Regions from separate parts of the Homo sapiens genome. Here region 2 is linked to region 1. Evidence: promoter capture Hi-C in human tissues and cell types (Jung and others, 2019). All regions are on one chromosome and are shown on one strand. The core of a region is centred on a gene start or on the middle of the fragment in contact, and the rest is flanking DNA. Distances in the headings are between cores, read along the strand shown.

Region 1 (7,156 bases), core at 2,280-4,779:
ATTAAGAAGATAAACACAAATAACACTAACAAGTGACTTCTGAAATCAGGGACTATGGACTATGTGCTTTACCTGCTGCTATGGTTTGGATATTTGATCCTAATGTTGGAGGTGGGGCCTAATGCGAGGTGTTTGAGTCATGGGTGTAGATCCCTCATGAATGGCTTGGTGCCATCTCAGTAGTGAATGGGTTCTCACTTTGTTAGTTCCCATGAGAACTGGTTTTAAAAGGAAGCTGGCACCACCCCCTTCAGCTTCCTCTCTCTCCACGTGATCTGCACCTGCCTGCTCCCTATCACCTTCCGCCGCCGTGACTGGAAGCAGCCTGAGGCTGTCACCAGATGCCCAGTCTTGAATCTTACAGCTCATAGCAGAGCCGTGAGCTAAATAAACCTTTTTTCTTCATAAATTGCCCAGCCTCAAGTATTCTTTTATAGCAACATAAATGGACTAAGACATCTGCTTTACCACATCTAATGTGCAAAGCCCTCCCAGGTAGGGATGATTTCTATCTCCATTTGACAAAGGAGGAAACTGAGCTGTGGACATTAGATAACTTGTCTAAGGCCATCTAGCCACAGCCTCCTGGCCACTACATGCTAATGTGCTTGCAAGCTGTAATATGTGTGCAGCTGGAAGGATGGTGGCATTATTTCATACACTCCCGATGCCGGATCCTGCACAGATCCCATGGCATTGGTTCAGAAATATAGGTCAGCAAATGTAATTCTGTGGATTTGGAGCCCAATGAGCCAGAGCCCCCACCTGAGCCTCTATGGCTGGGGCAGGAAGCTGCCAGGCTGGCCCAGCAGCAGGATCTGTGGACCAAGTTAGTGCCACTAATGGGCCATGTGGGCAGAATAGCACCTCACACCTCTCTTATTTACAGATTCCTATTTTTAAATGAAATCAGAGGTAAACAAAAACACTGCTGGGGAAAACAATACACTAGAGCAATGGCCAATTAATGTACTTGTCTGCACTCAGAGAAATTATTTTTAACGTCATTTTCCAATAGATTTAGTTGTCTTTACAAGTTCATGAAAAAGTAATTTAACAGAGCAGAATCTGTTTAAGACGCACCTACACAATCAGCTTTTAGAAAAACTTAATGACAAATTTGGTAGGGGGAAAAAAGACATGTTAAGTAACAATTCTGAGAGTAGGGTGCATGCAAACTCTCCCTCAGTGACAGTGTCACAGACAAGGGTTTAGGATGCTCAAACCCTTCCCCTCCTGCAGCCACCAGCTTCCTCCTCTCTTGGCTCCATCTTCCAGTGGTTCCCCGCCCACACTGCCTGCACATCAGAATCACCAAAAGCTTCTAAAAGATAGGATACTGAGCCCCACCCATACAGATTGTGATTGACTTGCTCTGGGGTGGGTCACTGCATCAGTAAGTTTAAGAAGTTTCCCAGGTGAAACCTGTTCCCAAATATTGCAGGGGACGTACTTACACTAAAAACATTTATTCATTGTTAATCTGATATTCACATCTAACTGGGCATCCTGTATTTTATTTGGCAATCCTATTCCCTCTCCCTCGCCCCCTTTCTAAACCGTCAGCAACTCCTGTTAGTTATATCTCCAAAATCTATTTCAAGTCCTTCCCTTGCTCCCCATTTCAATGATTACCACCCTAATCCAAGCCACCATCTGGACTCTGGCATGGTGCCCTGAATGACCTCCCATTTCACTCTCCACTGAGTGACCACATAAATTTCTCGAGTATATATTGAGATCATGCCATTCTTATGCTTAAAACCCTTCAGTGGCTCTGACTGCAGAATAACACTTCAAATTTTAAGAATTGCCTCAATACCCGCATGCCTACCTGCAGCCTCTAAGGCCCTGTGTGATTCCGCTGCTGCTCACCCCTCCAACCTCATCTCAAGTCACCTCTCATTCTGTGCTGAAGCCATTCCGTCCTCTCCACATCCTCTGAATGCAGGGAGGGCTTTCCTGTTTGAGGACCTATGCATATGCAGTTCCCTTTGCCTCCTTAGTCTTCTCTGCGCTGGTTTTTCTCATTTTTCAGCTATTTTTAAATGTCACCCAAAGTATATTACAGTTTATTTCCTCCAACATTTCATAATTGTGCGAATTTTATGTTTATGGCTTTATCCCAAGAGACCCCGTTCAGCTCTGTGGCCTTGCACAAACCATTTCCCAAAGTTAGACATGCCTACAAGATCAAGAGGCTGGGAGTAAGATCAGAGCTTCTCGAAACCATCAGGCTGTTTATCAGCCCCGCCCACAACGTGGCACGGCCTTTCTGCGACATCAGATGCTGAGCTGGACCTCCTCCTCCCCACCCCCTAGTCCTCCCCGTCCTCAGGTGGCGTCTGCGGTCGAGGATGTAAGCATTCTACTCGTTGATTAGTATCGTTTCCATTGACAAACCCCAGACTGATGAAGACCACTTTCAGCTGCAGCCCGCCCCCTCCAGCTTCAGCTTCGAAGACACTATTGCCAGTGGGTTTTCTAGAAGTGGTGATCATGGGCACCAAATTATCCCCTCCCTCTCCCTGCATTCTCCCATTATCGTCTACCCTTGGTTAAATACGCTGAAAAAAGAACTGAAGCGGAGTTAAGTACGAGGAAGCCTTAAAGACGCACTTTCTGGCAGCCCCCCGCCCCCTTTCCCCGCAGTGGAGGCTGCCCCAGGTCTACAGGTGCCGCCTTCGCCCGGCCTCGCGTAGCCCACAGCAGGGGCCGCCCGCCCGCCGAAGTTGAAGGCGCACCTCCCCTTCCCGGGAAGGACGACGGTTCCCCAAAAGAGGCGGAGGGTAGTCTCTCATCTGAACCAGGCGCTTTAATGCCTGCCTGAAGCCACCGCGGCCAGCGTGGAGACCACGCAGCGGGCGGGCGGCTGCAAGCCCTGGGCTCCGAGCGCCTCTCCTGTGCGGGTCCCGCCCCCCTCCCCGCATTCCTCTCGTTCTGCTCCCGAGCCCAGGCCACGCTGAAGGAAGTACTTGGGCAGTCTCTTTCCTGGAGAACGGGCCCGCCGGTTCCGGAAGCCTCTCCTACCCCCAGGCTGGTCACCTCGGACTACCGACCCGGGACAAGAAGTCCAAGCAGACTGCGGCGGAGGTAGGCTGGCCTCAGCCCAGCTCCCCCAGGGTCTCCCCCGGAGCGCCGGCCTCCCAGCACGCGAGCAGCCCCCTCCCACCCAGTCCCGCGGCCGCCTCCAGTCCCCCTGCGCCCGGGAAGCCTCCACCTCGCCCGCCCTGACACCGAGGTCCCAGTATCCAAAGCGCCCCCAGGGCCCCGCCCGCAACAGGGGAAGTTGCAGCCCGCCGCTCTCGGTCACCTTGGCCGTCACCGAGGGGCCTCGCTTGCGGAAGCCCTCGGCCCCCGAAGAAAACACAAGTGCGCCGAGCCCCACGCAAAGCACGAGAGGTAGCAGCAGCCGAGGACCCGGGCCCATGGTGAGCGGTGGCAGCGGCGCTACCGGCACGGGCGCTACCGGCACGGGCGCGACACAGGCTCTGGGACAGCTGACGGGACTGCCGGCCGGCTGCGCCTGCGCGCTCCCGGTTGCGGGGGATGGGGATCGGGCAGTCCGGGAAGGGCGGGGACCCGGGGCGCGTTCCTCCCAAGTTCAGACTCGCGACCCGAACTTGGGATTCGGAGGAGCGCGCCCACAGGGCGCAGCCAGGGCTCGACCGCCGCGCCTTAGGCGGGTGCGGAGGGCGCCAGGGACGGGAGGGAGCCCGGGTTGCCCAGGCGCGGAGCCGGGCGCAGCGGGCTAGGCTGGGAGCACCTCCAGGAATTTACCGCGTAGGCGCGGATTAAACTTGGACGGGAAGACCAGGACTCTCGGGCTTCCGCGTCCGCCCGGCAGCTAGCGCTCCGCGGGACTGGGAACTCTGCAGCCGGTCCCGGTGTGATTGCTGCCGCCTTGGGAGCAGCCTCCGCCGCGGCCGCCGAGTTCCAATGGCCCATTGGAACCTTTTGCTAGGTTTTGGACGCTTAGCAGAACTTTGACATCGCTGGAGGCGTGGAGCCCTGTTGCACTCGAATAATGGCCTCTCTTTGAGATGATTCACGTCTAGGGAACACTGGAAAATGCTGGATTCACAGTGCCCCTTTGCCTTCGAAAAACTTTTACATTGGCTTTAAGTACTTTATTTGGAGGATGATTCTGTGATCTTATCTACACTGTTCACAAGGCAGCACTTACACAGGCCCAGAACCATGGTCATGTAGGATTCTTTCCTGGGGAAACAAAGTAAATAAACTGACTTTTAGGTGTATCTGTAGGATGGATTTTTTACAAACTTAAGAATTATGTTTAGGAAGATTAATGACTGGGGAAGTAAGTTCTTATTATATTTTTAAATGGAAAATTCGGGTTGCAAAACCACAAATTCTGATCTCAACCGTGAAAATAAATATATCAAGGCACTTAAATATTGAAAGAGATGTACCACAACGTTTACAGTAGCTATAGATAGAATTGATAGCTATTGATAGACTTATGGATTTTTGAGGGTTTAAAAAAATTTTTTTTACAGTTTTCTGATTTCCCAGATGTTCTACAATGAGCATATAAGTATTTTATAACATGGAAAGGGTTATTTTAAAACTCATTGCTTTTTGAATTAGAATTTCAAAAGAACTTTTTTGTTTTAGAGTAACAGCCCTAAAATTAACTAAAAATTAGTGGTATTCGCACATAGGTGCCATTTTAAGGGGCTGGTGCCATTACTTTCAAGCCAAGATTTTCCTCGGATTAAGAGATGGAATTTCTAAATGTCAGATGGGATTCCTAGGTGTACCTAAGTGTAGATCTAAAATGACATTGGAACCATTAGAGATAAAAGGAGTAACCACTACTTCTTTGGGGTGAGAAAAAGGAGAAATGCAATTCTGAGCTATTTTTATGATTCAGTCCAGTGAAAGACCTAATGGCTTTCCTCTTCATCCCCACCCCCAATAAGGAAAGAGTCCCCCTTGTGTAGCAAGACAAGGGTATCTCTCAGAGCACTTACCCTACGAGGTGACTGTGAGGTGATTGTATATATTTATCTGTGTTCATTAATTGTTTTTGTCTGTCTGCTATCAGAAGTAAGCAGGGCCAGGGCAGGGATCAGGCCTATATTTATTCCCCTTTGATGACCCAGATCTAGTGCAATGCCTGATATATAGTGATTTCTCAATAACTATTTGTTGAATGAATGAATGTGTCCAACTACTTTTTATGCTACCACCATCTCACCCTCTAGGCAAAGAAATGAAATCTTTCCCAGCTCCCTAGAAACTCCTCTTATACCCTCTGCCAGTTACAAACACTTTTTTCTGCCCAAATTAACTGCAATCCTGACTTTTCTTGTACTATAGTTTAATTTTGTTTTAATTTTATTTGAATAGGGTATTACCGTATGTATTTCTTTTTGCTTAAATTTTTGTGAAATTCATCTATATTTTTGCATATAACTATTTTGGTGGCTAATACAAAGTAGGAAGCAAATTCATTTTTTTCATAAGAATATTCATTTATTTCAGTACAGTTTATTGAAAATTCTCCCCTTTAACTCACCGCTCCATACTGTTCTTCTGTCACAGAGCAAGTGCCCATGTATGCATAGGTGTGTTTGTGGGCACCCTATCTGTCCCATTGGCCTATTTGTCTGTCTTTGTGCCAATACTACATTGTCTTCATTAAAATAGCTTTATAATAACTCTTCATATTCAGTAATACATACCCTCTTAGCTTTGTTCAACAAATTCTTGGCTGTTCTTGAGCTTTTCCATGTCCATATAACTTGAGAATCAGCCTGTCAGTTTCCACACACTGAGATTTTGATGGGGATTGCACTGCATCTGTAGACCATTTAAGACTTGGCAAATTTACAATATTGAGTCTTCTAATTCATGAACATAGCATATTTAAGTCTTCTTTGGTTTCTCTCAATAAGATTTTATAGCTTTCTGCCCAGAGGTCTTACACGTATTTTATTAGTTTGATTTCTAAGTGTTTTTTTATGCTATTGTCATGTATTGTAGTAAAATTAATTTATATATTAACTTTGTATATACCAACCTTGTTAAACATATTCTAATAATTTATCTGTGAATTGTTTAGGATTTTCTCCATAGACAATTATGTCATCCATGAATAATGACAGTTTTATTTCTTCTTTTCTAATCTTTACATTTTGTATTTCTTTTTTGGCCTTTTTACACTGGCTGGGATCTGCAGTACAAAAGGAAGTGGCAACAGTGGGAGTCCTTGTATTGTAGACTGAATTATCCTCCAAAAAGATATATTGAAGTCCTAAACCTTGGTATCTGTGAATGTGACCTTATTTGGACTGCCTTTGCAGACGTAATCAAGTTAAGATGAAATCATACTGGAGTAGGGTTTGCCCTACTCTAATATGACTTGTGTCCTCATAAAAAGGGAACAGACACAGACACACGCACAGAGAACACCATATGAGGATGGAGGCAGAGATTGGAGTGCTGTATCTACAAGACAAGGGATGCCAAAGATTGCTGGCAACCCCCAGAAGCTAGGAAGAGGCAAGGAAGGATTTGCCCCTAGAGCCTTCAAAGACAGCATGGCCTTGCCAACACCTTGATCTCAGCTGCTAGTTTCCAGAACTGTGAGACAATGCATTTCTCTTGTTTGAAGTCACCCAGTTTGTGGCACTTTGTTACAGCAGCCCTAGGGGGCTCATACACCTTGTCTTGGTCCCAGTGTCAGAGGGAAAGCTTCAGTGTTTCACCATTAGGCATGATATTTGCTGAAGGTCCTTTTGGGGGATATCTTTTTTCAGATTCAGAAAATTCCTTTCTAGTCCTTGTTTGCTAAGAGTTTTTAGCATATATTTGATTTAAATTTTATTAACATCATCTATTGAAATCAATTGAAATAATTATGTGATTCTCTTACTCTGTTAATGTGATGAATTGCATTGATTTTCAAATCTTAACCCAAGCTTACATTCTGGAATGTGTCCAACATGGATTATCCTTTTTATATATTACTAGATGTGGTTTGGCAATATCAGTTTATTAACAAAGTTGCCAAAAACTGAATATAGACTATCTTCTGAAGTTCAGGAAGAAAAGAGTGGGTAAAATGTGGCTCTGGCTGTCCAGCTGAGACTGAGTTCGTCACCCACATGTCATTTCAGTGTTAGTG
Region 2 (7,156 bases), core at 2,358-4,857, 590 kb after region 1:
ACTCCTTTCCCAATCCCAGGCAGCAAAGTGAAAAGATAGCATGAAATTGCAGGAAAGAGAAGTGAGCCTAGGACTTTGTCTTCAAACCTAAAATTAGGTAGCACCAGGCAGACCTCCCACAACCCCTGACTTTAGGGGAGTACCTGCAGACCGAACCTCCAGACGTGCCCTGGCATCAGCAGGAACGCATAGCTTCTATTAGGTGAGATCAGTCTGCTGTATGCATCACTGACAGCTTACTACAGTGGCCTTGGGCTCTGGACAACCCCCATTGGAAGGCAGACTTCAGCAGCTGTGAGTTTCAGGCACATCCCAGCTCCATGATATCCTCAGCAGACATGAGATTCCAGCCTGGCATCATATGGCTGCAGTGATCCCAGGATTAGGGCATCCCTCAGTGTCTCAATGGTACTTCAGTGGTACCAGGTTTAGAGAGCATGCCAGATGATATACCTAGAATCTCTGCTCAGACACCAATGAACAACAAAGATCAAGAATAATCAGGGAAACATGATATTACCAATGGACAAAATAAAGTGCCAGTGACCAACCCTAAGGAAATGGAGATGAATGAATGTGCTTCCTGACAAAGAATTGAAAGTAACCATTTTCAGCGAACTTCAAGAAAATACAGAGAAACAATTCAATAAAAAGAAGACCATAAGTGATCAGAACAAGAAATTTAACAGAGAGAATGAAATGATAATAAAAATCAAATAGAAATCCTGGAACTGAAAAATATAATGAACAAAATGAAAAATGTCACAGAGAATATAAACAGCAGAATTGATCAAGCAAAGAAATAATCTGTGAACTCAAAGGCAGGTTATTTGAAAATAAACAGAAGGAAAAAAGGAAAAAGAATGAAAAGAAATGAGGAAAACTTACGGAATTTGTGAGAAAGTATCAAAGGATAAAATATTTGAGTCCATAGGAGTTAGAGAAGCAGAAGAGAAAAATAAAGGGACAAAAAGTGTATTTAAAGAAATGATAGCCAAAAAACTTTCCAAACCTGGAGAAAGGTATAAATATCTAATTACAGGAAGGTTAAAGGTCTTCAATCAGATTCAGTCCAAATAGGACTACTTCAAGACATATTATTATCAAAATGTCAAACATCAAAGATAGAGAGGATCCTGAAAGCAGCAAGAGAAAAGAAGCAAATAACATATAAAGGAATTCCAATACACATAGCAGCAGACTTCTCACTAGAATCTTATAGGCCAGGAGACTGGGATGATATACTCAAAGTGGTGAAGGGGAAAACAACAACAACAACAACAACAACAACAACCAATTAGAGTATGGTACCCAGATAATCTGTTCTTTATAAATGAAGGGTCAGGCATGGCAGCTCATGCCTATAATCCCAGCACTTTGGGAGGACAAGGTGGATGGATCACTTGAGGCCAGAAGTTTGAGACCAGACTGGCCAACATGGCAAAACCCCATCTCTACTAAAAACACAAAAAATTAGCCGGGTGTGGTGGCATACACTTGTAATCCCAGCTACTCGGGTGGCTGAGGCAGGAGAATCGCTTGAACCTGGGAGGCGGAGACTGCAGTGAGCCATTATCATGCCACTGCACTCCAGCCTCGGTGACAGCATGAGACCCTGTCTCAAAAAAAAAAAAAAAAAAAAAAAAAGAAAGAAATGAAAGAGAAAAAGAGAAACACTTTCCCACACACAAAAAAGCTGAAGTTTATCATCACCAGACCTGTCTTACAAGAAATGCTAAAGACAGTTCTTCAAGCTGAAAGAAAAGGATGCTAATGAGTAACATGAAAACATCTGAGAGTATAAAACTCACTAGTAAAAGCAGGGACACAATCATATTTGGAATATTATTATACTGTAATCATGGTAAAAAAAGATCACTTGTACCTTTAGTGTGAAGATTAAAAGACAAACTATTAAAAATAAATATGATAATTTGTTAAGGGATGTTGAACACAAGAAAGATGTAAATTATGATAAAACTCAGAGTCAGGGGTAGTGGAGTAAAAGTAAAGTTTTTTTTTAATTGAAGTTAATTTGTTATCACCTTAAAATATCTTGTTTTGATTATAAGATTTTTTTTGGTAAGCCTCATTGTGACCACAAAGTGAAAACCTATAGTAGATGTGCGCAAAAAACAAGGAATGAAAACATACTACTAGAGAAAAACACTTAATCATAAAGGAAGACAGTAAAAGAGAATGAAAGGAACAAAGAATCTACAGAACAACTAGAAAACAATAAGTGAAAGGGCAGTGGTTAAGTCCTCATCTATCAATAATTACCTTGAATGTAAATATGTTAAATTATCCAATCAGAAGACACAGAATGGCTAAATGGATTTTTAAAAAGAAGAGACCTAAGTATATGCTGCCAATGAGAGACTCACCTCAGCTGTAAGGACACACATAGACTGAAAGAAGGGATGAAAAAAGATATTACATGCACATGGAAATCAAAAGTATTAGATGTGTATTACATGAGTATTAGACAAAATAGGCTTTAAGTAAAAAACTGTAAAATAAGATGAAAAAGGCCATTATATAATGATAAAGGGCTTAATGCTGCAGGAGGATATGATATGACAATTATAAATATATATGCACCCAACATTAGAGCACCTAAATATACAACACATGTATTAACAGATTTAAAGGGAGAAATAGACAATAATAGTATGTACAGTAGCAGTATAGGACATTAACACCCCACTTTCAGCAATGGAAAAATCATCCAGACAGAAAATTAGCATTGAGACATTGGACTCAAACTCTGCTTTAGACCAAATAGACCTAACAGATGTATACAGAGCATTTCATTCAAGAGTTGCAGAATTTACATTCTTCTAAAGTGCACATGGAACATTATCTAGGCTAGATCATGCGTTAGGTCACAAAACAAGTCTTAACAAATTTAAGAAGATTGAAATCATATCAAGTATCTTTTCTGACCACAGTGATACAAAACTAAAAATAACAGGAAGAACTCTGAAAAATTCACAAACACATGAAAATTGAACATCTTGAACAACCAATGGGTCAACGAAGAAATTACAAGTAAAATTAAAAAATGTATTCAGGCGAATGAAAATGGAAACACAGCATACTAAAACTTCTGGGATGCAGCAAAAGCACTTCTAAGATGGAAGTTTATAGCAATAAACACCTACATCAAAAAAGAAGATCTCAAGTAAACAACCTAATATTTTACTTCGAGGTCTTGAAAAAAGAATAAACTAAGCCCAAAATTAGTAGACGGAAGGAAATAATAAACATCAGAGCAGAAATAAATAAAATAGAGACTAGAAAAACAATAGAAAGGATGAAAAAACAAAGTGTTGGTTTTTTTTTTTGAAAAAAGATGAAATTAATAAACCTGCCAGTTGGACTAAGAAAAAAAGAAGACTCAAATCAGAGAGGAAAAAGGAGACATTAAAACTGATAACACAGAAATATAAAGGATTATAAGGCTATTATGGACAATTATACCCCCAACAAACTGGATAATCAAGAAGAAATGCTAGCATGAGTACATTCCATCCCCCGGCTCCCGGCCACCCCAGCCCCGCCAAGTCTCCATTGCAGTTAAAGCCTTGGCAGGCACAGAGCCTGCCAGCCGCACCCCCGCCCCCACCAGCACCCCACCCCTGTGACAACACTGCCATGGGAGTGAAACTAGGCACAGAGAAGAGTGGGCCTTTCCCCACCCTGAGCAGCCATCTCCACCTGGGTGAATGCTCATGGAGGGTGCGCCCAGTCCTATGCCCACCAGCACCCTGCCCCCTGTGCTAACCACACCACCAGCACCACTGTGCACATAGTTGCCAGAGGTACCCTCAGCCATGCTGCCTCCATTGCTACTGTGAATGCCTTCTCAGAGGCCAGCACCCAGCACCCGCCAGTACCCTGCCACAGCGGAGAAGAAGTCCACCCTGCTCTGCTGCTGCTGCTGCCACTGCTGCTGGCACATGCAAATGAGAACAGATCCTGCTGCTGCCACCATACAAAAAGCTTTGAGTGGCACCATCCATCAGAGTGCTGTGACACAGTGGTCCCGGAGCACTGCGGCACTGCCAGTGCAGTGATTTCCTAATCCCAAGAAGCCAGAGAACAAATTCTCGGGACTGATAACAGTTCCCCAGAGTTAGAGCATGCAGTCCAGGAGTTGTGAGCTGAGCCATGGCTCCTTTAAATCTTCCATAAATGAAACCAGCTGACTGAAACCATCTTACACCACAATCAAATTCTCTAGTTCATCAAATAGGATAAAAGGACAGCGACTTTAAAGACTGAAGGAGCATCAGCCCAGGAAGATGAGAAAGAACCAGCTCAAGCATTCTGACAACTTAAAAAACCAGAGTGCTATCTTTCCTCCTAACAACCACACTAGGTCTCCAGCAAAGATTCAGAACTGAACTGAGATGGCTGAAATGACAGAAATAGAATTCAAAATAAGGATACAAATAAAGATCACTGAGATGCAGCAGCATGTTGAAACCCAATCCAAGGAAGCTAAGAATCACAATAAAATGATACAGGAGCTGATAGACAAAATAGCCAGTATAGAAAAGAATGTAATTGACTTGTTAGAGCTGAAAAACACACTACAAGAATTTTATAATGCAATTACAAGTATTAGTGGCAGAATAGACTAAAATAAAGAAAGAATATCAGAGCTTGAAGATTGGCTCTCTGAAATAAGACAGACAATAACAGAGAAAAAGAATTAAAAGAAATGAACATTACCTTCAAGAAATATGGGATTATGTAAAGAGATCAAATCTATAACTCACTGGTGTGCCTGAAAGAAATGGGGAGAATGGAAGCAACTTGAAAAATGTATTTCAGGAAATCAGCCATGAGGACTTCCCCAAACTAGCTAGAGAGGCCAAACTTCAAATTCAGGAAATGCAGAGAAGCCTAGTAAGATAAGTCACAAGAAGATCATACTCAAGACATGTAATCATCAAATTCTCCAATGTCAGAATGAAAGAAAAAATGTTACAGGCAGCTAGAGAGAAAGGTCAGGTCACCTAGAAAAGGAAGCCCATCAGACTAACAGCAGACCTCTCAGCAGCAACCCTACAACCCAAAAGAGATTGGGGGCCAATATTCAACATTGTTAAAGAAAAGAAATTCCAGCCAAGAATTTTATATCGGCCAAACTAAACTTTGTAAGCAAAGGAGAAATAAGATTCTTTTCAGACAAGCAAATGCTGAGGGAATTTATTACCACCAGACCTGCCTTACAAGAGCTCCTAAAGGAAGCAATAAATATGGAAAGGAAAAACTGTTATCAACCAGTACAAAAACACACTTAAGTACACAGACCAGTGACACAATAAAGCAATCACAAACAAACCAGCATAATAACCAGCTAACAATACATGACAGGGTCAAAGCTACACATATCAATACTAACCTTGAATGTAAATGGGCTAAATGCCCCAATTAAAAGACACAGAGAGGCAAGCTGGATAAAAAAAGCAATACCCAATGATATGCTGTCTTCAACAGACCCATCTCACACATAATGACAGCCATAGGTTCAAAATAAAGGGATGGAGGAAAATCTACCAAGCAAACGGAAATCAGAAAAAAGCAGGGGTTGCAATCCTAGTTTCTGACAAAAGAGACTTTAAACCAGCAAAGATAAAAAAAAGACAAAGAAGGGCATTACGTAATGGCAAAATGTTCAATTCATCAAGAAGAGCTAACTATCCTAAATATATATTCACTCAACACAGGAGCACCCAGATTCATAAAGCAAGTTCTTAGGGACCTACAGAGACCTAGCCTTCCACACAATAAATCATTGAAGACTTCAACACCCCACCAAAAGTAACAGACAAATCATTGAGGCAGAAAATTAACAAAGATCTTCAGGACCTGAACTCAGCACTGGATCAAATGGATGTGATAAATGAGTTCTACAGAACTCTCCACCCCAAAACAGCAGAATATACATTCTTCTCATCACCACATGGCACATATTCTAAAACTGACCACACAGTCAGACACAAAACACTCTACAGCGAGTGCATAATAACTGAAATAATGAAAAACACTCTTTTGGACCACAGCACAATAAAATTAGAGTTCAAGACTAAGAGAATTACTCAAAAGCATACAATTACATGAAAATTAAATAACCTGCTCCTGAATGACTTTTAGGTAAATACTGAAATTAAGGCAGAAATCTAAAAGTTCTTTGAAACTAATGAGAATGAATATACAACATACCAGAATCTCTGGAACACAGCTAAGGCAGTGTTAAGCAGGAAATTTATAGCATTAAAGGCCCCCCAAAAAAGTTAGAAAGATCTTATATGAACAACCTAACATCACTTAAAAAAACTAGAGAAGCAAGAGAAAACCAATCCCAAACTAGTAGAAAACAAGGAATAACCAAAATCAGAGTTGAACTGAAGAAGATTGAGACATGAAAAAACATTCATAAGATAAACAAATCTAGGAGTCTGTTTTTTGAAAAAATTAACAAAAATATATAGATCAGTAGCTAGATTAATAAAGAATAGAGACAATCCAAATAAACACAATTAGAAATGACAAAAGGGATATTACCACCGACCCCACAGAAATACAAATAATCATCAGGGAATATTATGAATAGGTCTATGCACACAAACTAGAAAATCTATAAGAAATGGATAAATTCCTGGACACATACGCCCTCCCAAGACTGAACCAGGAAGAAATTGAATCCCTGAACAGATCAGTAATGAGCTCCAAATTGAATCAGTAATAAATGGCCTACCAACCAAAGAAAGCCCAGGATCAGATGATCCACAGCTGAATTCTACCAGATGTACAAAGAAGAGCTGGTATGATTCCTACTGAAACTGTTCCAAAAGATTGAGGAGGACAGACTCCTCCCTAACTTGTTCTATAAGGCCAGCATCATCCTGATTCCAAAACCTGGCAGAGACAACAAAAAAAAGGAAACTTAGGCCAATATCCTTGGTGAACATTGATGTAAAAATCCTCAACAAAATACTGGAAAATCAAATCCAGCAGCACATCAAAAAGCTTATCCAGCATGATCAAGTAGGCTTTATCCCTGGGAGCAAGGTTGGTTCAACATAAGCAAACCAGTAAATGCGATACATTAATTAAACAGAACTAAAGACAAAAACCA

Evidence for each region. Contacts are between HindIII fragments. The study calls those that stand out against the background at their distance.
Region 2: a contact is called between a fragment that was not itself captured here and the fragment with the promoter of PPIC in region 1, in 1 of the 25 tissues and cell types used here (lymphoblastoid cells).

What each region holds. Positions count from the first base shown.
Region 1 is chr5:123,033,196-123,040,351 of GRCh38, forward strand. It overlaps PPIC (peptidylprolyl isomerase C), which reads right to left and starts at 3,530. Exons shown (of 5, transcript NM_000943.5): 1 at 3,314-3,530. The coding sequence starts at 3,430. It overlaps PPIC-AS1 (PPIC antisense RNA 1), which reads left to right and starts at 2,727. Exons shown (of 2, transcript XR_001742868.2): 1 at 2,727-3,093. RefSeq lists silencers at 2,226-2,398, 3,707-3,756. The HindIII fragment of the contact is 11,652 bases long and covers 1-7,156 here.
Region 2 is chr5:123,625,474-123,632,629 of GRCh38, forward strand. No RefSeq gene overlaps it. Among named protein-coding and RNA genes, the nearest start is that of CSNK1G3, 120 kb to the left of the region's middle. RefSeq lists an enhancer at 3,382-3,883. The HindIII fragment of the contact is 3,840 bases long and covers 1,688-5,527 here.